Linked DNA regions of Homo sapiens: region 2 is linked to region 1. The links are contacts of gene promoters, found by promoter capture Hi-C in blood cells and fetal thymus (Javierre and others, 2016). All regions are on one chromosome and are shown on one strand. Each heading gives the region's core, a stretch centred on a gene start or on the middle of the fragment in contact. The rest is flanking DNA. Distances are from core to core; before and after follow the strand shown. Region 1 holds the start of CIMIP2B (ciliary microtubule inner protein 2B). Region 2 holds the start of SPATA31F1 (SPATA31 subfamily F member 1).

What was found. The method cuts DNA at HindIII sites, captures the fragments that hold promoters and counts their contacts. A CHiCAGO score of 5 or more calls a contact.
Region 2: the fragment with the promoter of SPATA31F1 here is called in contact with the fragment with the promoter of CIMIP2B in region 1 in 2 of 17 cell types (non-activated CD4 T cells and megakaryocytes); the score reaches 5.6 in non-activated CD4 T cells.

What each region holds. Positions count from the first base shown.
Region 1 is chr9:35,562,092-35,565,436 of GRCh38, reverse strand. It overlaps CIMIP2B (ciliary microtubule inner protein 2B), which reads left to right and starts at 1,559. Exons shown (of 6, transcript NM_001164310.3): 1 at 1,559-1,670; 2 at 2,048-2,271; 3 at 2,357-2,562; 4 at 2,737-2,788; 5 at 2,863-3,057; 6 at 3,342-3,345. The coding sequence starts at 1,609. The HindIII fragment of the contact is 1,503 bases long and covers 350-1,852 here.
Region 2 is chr9:34,727,647-34,730,991 of GRCh38, reverse strand. SPATA31F1 (SPATA31 subfamily F member 1) reads left to right here and starts at 1,504. Exons shown (of 4, transcript NM_001141917.2): 1 at 1,504-1,708; 2 at 2,338-2,383; 3 at 2,910-2,970. The coding sequence starts at 1,565. It also overlaps a transcript of PHF24 not described here. The HindIII fragment of the contact is 7,130 bases long and covers 952-3,345 here.

The DNA of each region.
Region 1 (3,345 bases), core at 310-2,809:
CTAGGGGCAGGAATGGACATCGTTTCGTCTTGCGCATCTCTGTCTCTCTCACTTGCTCTAATTTGATGTGAATCTTTTCTTTAAGAGCAAAGAAACTTTTCCCAGGACCCTCCCCTGCCCCAGCAGATTTCCCCTCATATTATCCAGAATGCTGGAAGCCCGTGCCTAAGCGGTCATGGGGAAGGAGCATGGGACCACGCTTAGACTAATCCAGCTCATTCCTCCAGGCTGGCTCTCCAAGCCTCCCTGATGCAGTTTCTGGCTCCTCGGAAGAAAGGAGATGGGGGTCAGGAATAGGTATAAGCTGTGATAGTGTCTGTCACAGAATCCCAAGTCTGGTTGTTAAGCTTGACACACTGCTGCTATTCTGGGCTTGCCCCTCGGCTCCCATCCTCACTCTAACATATTTCCTCAGCTGTGAGGTAAGTCCCCACAACTCTAAATGACACATTCTAAGGCTGTCCTTGGCAGAACAGTGAGGAACATGAAATGTGTGCCTTGGAGCCCAGTGCTCTTATGTAATTCCCCTGGGATGTCAGTGCCGTCCTTGGTCAGCGCAGGCATGGTCACTGGAGGTGGGGAGAAGAGCAGAGCTCTGCCTCAGAAACGTGGGCCCTGAGCCCTCAGCCTGGCCCTGACCCAGCCCCAGAACTTTTTGTTTTGTTTTGTTTTTTGAGGTGGGGTCTGGCTGTGTTGCCCAGTTTGGACTGAAACTCCCGGACCCAAGTGATCCTCCCACCTCAGCCTCCTCAGTACGTTGATGTGAGCGTGGCTGCACCCGGCCCAGAGTTGGGTTTTAAACATGTTTCCCCGTCCTCTGAGATCTCATCTTCCTGGTCTGTGCTTTTTCTTCTCTTAGAATCCGAATTTTTTATTTTATTTTATTTTTTTAACAAATTCTAACTTGCTCCCTAGTGTTACCGCCCACACCTACAACAACTTTATCCTGTTTCCTTCCCTCAACCCCCACAGCTTTTCTGGCTCCCATGGAGTGCACACTCGGCCACTGTGGCCGGAGCCTGGCAGAGCCTGGCTCATTTGTTGAATGGATGACTCTGATTATAGCAGGTATTCAGTAAGCCACTCTTGTTAAATTATTGAAAATAAACGATGTTACTCCCTAGAGGTGTCTAGGTTCCTTTTTTTCCCCCATCACCTGTCCTCTTTCACCTCCCCTCTGGGCCCTGGCTTCCCTCAAAGATCCTTTCTCCAGGTCCCCCATCTCCTTTGATGAAGACTCATGAGGAACACAGTGTCCACCTCTCAGGCAGGCGCTCAGGAAGGAAGTCGCTGAGACAGAGCTCAGTGGCCCGAATGGTTTCTGCTCCCTCACCTCCCACGTCCCACCTCCCACGTCCCACCTCAGGGCTTCCTTCGGTTCGGGCCCTGCCCCACGAGCAGGACCACCTTTGTCCTGGACAGACAGACCTGCTAGCCTCTGCTCTACAGTTCTGCCGGCCTTCGCCCTGGCTGTCCTCACACGAGTGCCCCCTCCCTTCTCTCCTCCCTTAGCCCCGCCTCCTTCCTCTAGCCCCACAGCCCTGGACACGGTACACACAGACCAGAGCCTTGGCTCAAAGGCAAACAAAAGGAAATGCCCGGCTCCCCATGGCTGTGGCCAGCACCTTCATACCAGGGCTCAACCCTCAGAACCCTCATTATATCCCAGGGTAAGACTCCCACTTAGCGCTCCCCGCTTGCTGCTGGGAGTAGGGGTATAGGGTGGAGGAATTAAGCTGCTTAGAGCATGGGGCCAAGCGGACAGGTTGGTTTGGGAGGCTGAGGTCTCTATGGTGGTGGATGGAAAAGGAGAAGCAAGGGACTAGTGAGACACCGGGTCTGCCCCAAAGCTTTGTGTTGTTCTCTCCATGGGAACAGGGTAACAGCAGAGGAAGGATCGAAAGCCCAGGCAGAGAACTTAGAAATGCCTGCTCCAAATATATACACTGCTGAGTCCAGAAAGATCAGGGCTTCAGAGGTCTCCGCTTCTGCCTCTGGGGATGGCGGGGCAGGGCGATTCTGGTGAGTGGGAGAGTCTGTGCTGCAGGTACACTGGACACTGCCCACTACTTCGGTTCAGCGTGGGCCAGACCTATGGGCAGGTGACTGGTCAGCTACTTCGAGGCCCTCCTGGCCTAGCCTGGCCCCCTGTCCACCGCACACTTCTGCCTCCCATTCGGCCTCCAAGATCTCCTGAGGTTCCCAGGGAGAGTCTACCTGTCAGGCGTGGGCAAGAAAGGCTCAGCTCCAGCATGATCCCTGGGTACACAGGTTTGTACGCAGGTATGCACAGGTGCCCCTCCCAGGAGCATGTGTTCCAAACACTAACGAGTCTTCCTTGTCCCTGCCTGCCCAGGTTTTGTACCCCGGGCACAGTTCATCTTTGCCAAGAACTGCAGCCAGGTCTGGGCCGAGGCTCTGAGTGACTTTACTCACTTGCATGAAAAGCAAGGGAGTGAAGAGCTACCAAAGGAGGCCAAGGGAAGAAAGGACACAGAGAAGGACCAGGTGCCAGAGCCGGAGGGGCAGCTGGAGGAGCCGACACTGGAGGTGGTGGAACAAGTGAGACCAAGAAGCTGGTGGGGAGTGCAGAGGTGTGGGAGTGGGGGTCTTACTGTGTGTCCGGGCAGTGGGGGCAGCATGAGTAGTGTGGCTGTGGGTTCAGGGGATGTGCACTTGATTGTCAGCTCCACCTCCTTGGGAGATTGTGTGACAGCACAGGGGCTTCTCTCACAGGCTTCTCCCTACTCCATGGATGACAGGGACCCTCGGAAGTTCTTCATGTCAGGTGAGAGCTGGGGGGTCAGGATCAGAGGCGTGGGGAGGCCCCAGGATGCCTTGGCTCAGTGTCCCCATCCTCAGGCTTCACTGGCTATGTGCCCTGCGCCCGCTTCCTCTTCGGCTCCAGCTTTCCTGTGCTCACCAACCAGGCACTGCAGGAATTTGGGCAGAAGCACTCACCAGGCAGTGCCCAGGACCCCAAACATCTCCCCCCACTTCCCAGAACATACCCTCAGAACCTGGGTCTTTTACCTAACTATGGGGGCTACGTGCCAGGTGAGAAGAGCCCCCGGGGAGGCTTTGGGGACTGGAATGTTTGTTTGTATGGGTATGGGGTGGGTTGGGTGGTTTGTGGGGGTTGAAACTAATAGATATGGGAGGGCTCAGATCATGTGGTTCAGCTTTATTATCAGGCAGAAAAGGAAACCGAGGTAGCTACCCACAGTGGGGAATTAGGGCCAGATTTTAGAGGGCTGTTTGGAGGTCTAGCCAACTGGCTGAGAATTAAATGGCTTTGCCATGCCACTTGCTACATGTGACAGACTCTCTTGGCCACACAGGGTA
Region 2 (3,345 bases), core at 255-2,754, 830 kb after region 1:
AAATAAAATAGATACAAAGGCCCTCCCTCCATCAAGAGGCCTCTATCCTGATCCTCCAATCTTTCTCACAATTGCTCTCCAGTCCACCCTTCTATATTCTGCTAGAGATACACTGCATTTGTTATTGCCAAATGAACTCCATGGCCCATTCCCTAGATTCAGCATGAGCTGGTAAGTTTTTCTCCCACCAGGAAGAGTCCTTTTACCCACAACCTGCACTGTTAAACTTAACTTCGACTACCCAGGAGCCCTCTCTGATGACCATGATCCTCACTATGATTTCTCTTCTCTGAAATGGAATGTTTGTGGCCAGAGCCTTACGAATGAGTATATAAGTCTATTTGTAGTGATTGTTGGCTCTTGCTTTGTATGAATTAGTCTTGTCTTTGAAACTACATTTTTAAGTATCTTGAAAGCAGAAAGCCAATGCGGCTCAAATGTCTTTGTATCCTCAACACTCCCCAGCTTAGGGCTGAGCACATATTGGGTGCTTACCACATCTGCTGGGTGGGCTGGATACTGAGGAAGGACCAAAGCCTCTTCAGAGATTTTCAGCCCAAAGGTTTCTTGGCCTGAGACCACCATTACCAGAGCAGAACTCTCTCAAGGAAATTCAGGAATACTGAGGTGTTGGTGGCATATCACAATATCTACAAAAGCTAGGCAGGTAAATCAATAGTCTGGCTATGGAAGTAATGGGTCCTGAAGCTGAATTGGAAAACACATGCCCTGCCTAAAAATTTACAAAATACAGATTTGAGAAAAATAAACAAACAAACAAAAAAAACATCCTCAGGCAAACAGCATACATCCAACCATGAACAGCAACTAGTCACTTGTGACCCACAGTCAGAAGCGGCCACTAACCCATCTCTGCAGGCATTCATCTCCCTGAGCATGAATGTGCCTCCATGGAAGGTAGCATTTACAGTCCCAACCCATCTGCAAGCTTGAGGCCACACAGACCAGATACGTACAACCACCTTGGCCTCTCCCTACCACCCTACCACATCAGCCATGGTCCCCTTCCTGCACCTCTGTTACCAATCACCCATTGCCTAAAACATCAAAGATCTCCATTTCCAAGCCATAACCAGACTCCGCCCTCCCTAAATTCATGTGTGTTTCTCAGGTATATTACCAAAACTAGTGGGAGAGTTAGTGGAGGTTCCTCCGGCCTATCTACCCCTTCTTATGAGGTGACCCCTGTGCCAAAGCACTCAGTTTTCTGAGGACAGGTGACCATACAGTTGTGAAGGAGAGAGCCGAGGCATCAGGCTGGTATAGGGAGTGGAAAGTGAAGACAGACTAGGAAATAGACACTGCTTGTGGCACCTTCAGTCCCAGGCTCAAAACACCCTCATCTACAGACTGAATCACCACATGAGCTTCCCTACTACATGTACCTTATGAAACAGGAGGGCTTTGTGATGCAGTCTGGTGGCCTAGTTCCGTCCTCTGTGAGGTGGACATGACAAGGCCTAGCACTGGGATTCATTAGGCACCAGAACCCTGAATTCCGAGATAGAGGGATGGTTGATCTCATGCTAATGAAGTTTAGACCATGTTGAGCCCTACTTTTGTTCTGTGGGAAGTTGGATATCCCTTATACATCTATGGCTCCATCTTCATCGTTATTGTAATTATCTGGCAAGTGAAAAGGAGCCACCATGAATTGAGTTCAGAACCTAAAAGGAGCTGCTGCCGGGTAGGGCTGTGATCCCAACTGAACTAATTAAGCCTCAGATAAGAAGCCTATAAGTTCTTACCGTGCTCCCTTATAATCCCCACCCCAGAATTTTTATAGCATACTTTCAGTTACCTTTGTGTAATACTTTTCTTCTCAGAGACTATAATTCCTTACCAGGCCCTTCCCGCAACATAGTCTGATTGAAAAGCCAAGAACCTCTCTATTTGGTTTGGATTGAGAACTAGATAATATGAAGTCTATCTTGCTGGATCTCGGAAGCTCTCTGAATATGGGGGATTTTTCCGGTTGGTGGGCTTTGTAAGCAGAAGTCCTTTGGTTGTTAGAACCATTTACCCTTTTGTCTGTTCTGCTTTTCCTCCTGTGTCATCCTCAGCATCCAGCAGGACTTCTCTGTGAATCAGATGGGAGGTATAGAATTTGGAAAAGCCTCCAAGTGAATCCAAAATAAGCAGAGAAGGAAAATGGGGTAAAAAGGTGGAATAGGCAAAGGAAGTCCAGGAGAGTGTATAAAATACAGATAGATATATACAAAGCGAGTGAAAAATGTATGTAAGTTTTGTCTCATTTTGGACATGAGAAAGAAAATGGTGTCCCAGCTTCACATTCTAATGTTTTTGTCTTCTAAGTGTCACCAAAAAGTCAGGCAAAGAGCTAGAGATGCAGCATCAACAGGTAAAGTCCCAATCTCTCCTCTGACTCCCTTCCACTGTGGGTGTTTCCCATGAATCCTGTCCCTCTGTGACCTCTGGAGCCAAGAGCCAGGTGCTCTGCCACTGAAGACTCCAGTTCCCCAGACTGAAATTTCCATGGGTGGGAAATCATAACTTGAGAATGTTCCAAAATCCTGTACCTCAATGCCCTGGAAATGAAGAATTAAGAAAGTAGAGCAGATGTTCTTAATTGTATAACTTACTAGTTTTATGACCCTGTGGAAGTCATTTCATCTCTCATTCTTATCCACAAAATGAGCAAAACACTGACAATCCTGCCTCAATCACATTGTGGTTGTAAAAATCAAATGAAATTAGATATGGGACATTGTGTTACAGCGATGCTGTACTCAGACATGCCTTAGAGTACGGACTTTTCAGGATTGTAGTCTTTTCTTGATGAGAGTCAAAGGCCTTACTATTCAGCTTCCTATAGGATGCCTATGAAATTATCCCATGCCATATAACACTGTCTCCCCGTTCCTCAGCTAGGAGACGTTCCCGGGAAGAAGCTGAGAAGCCACAGAAGCTGCTCTCCATCATTAAAAGGTGATCTATTGCTCTTTGCACTCTATCAACAACCAGCCTGGCCTATGATGATTTCTTGGCTTGGCCTGGGGCAGGACTAAGGAGAAAGATAATGGCTGGGAGGGAGACATACACAGTGGAAGCAGGGACACTGGGTGAGAGGGTTGCCAGGGAAGAGTGGGGTTCACATGTCTCAGGAGAGATGAGCTGCCCAGTTCAGTTCTGTGCTAGGGTAACAGCAGTTCTACAATTCAGGATTTTACTAGTGTATAATTCATAAAACATATTACATGGAGCTGCACTCAGCCATGAGATAAGTTACCCAGTTAAGAGAATGGGTTTTGAATAAAGAAGTCATCCTTGTCTTATTCTCTTTATACTCTTTCAAGGGAATAA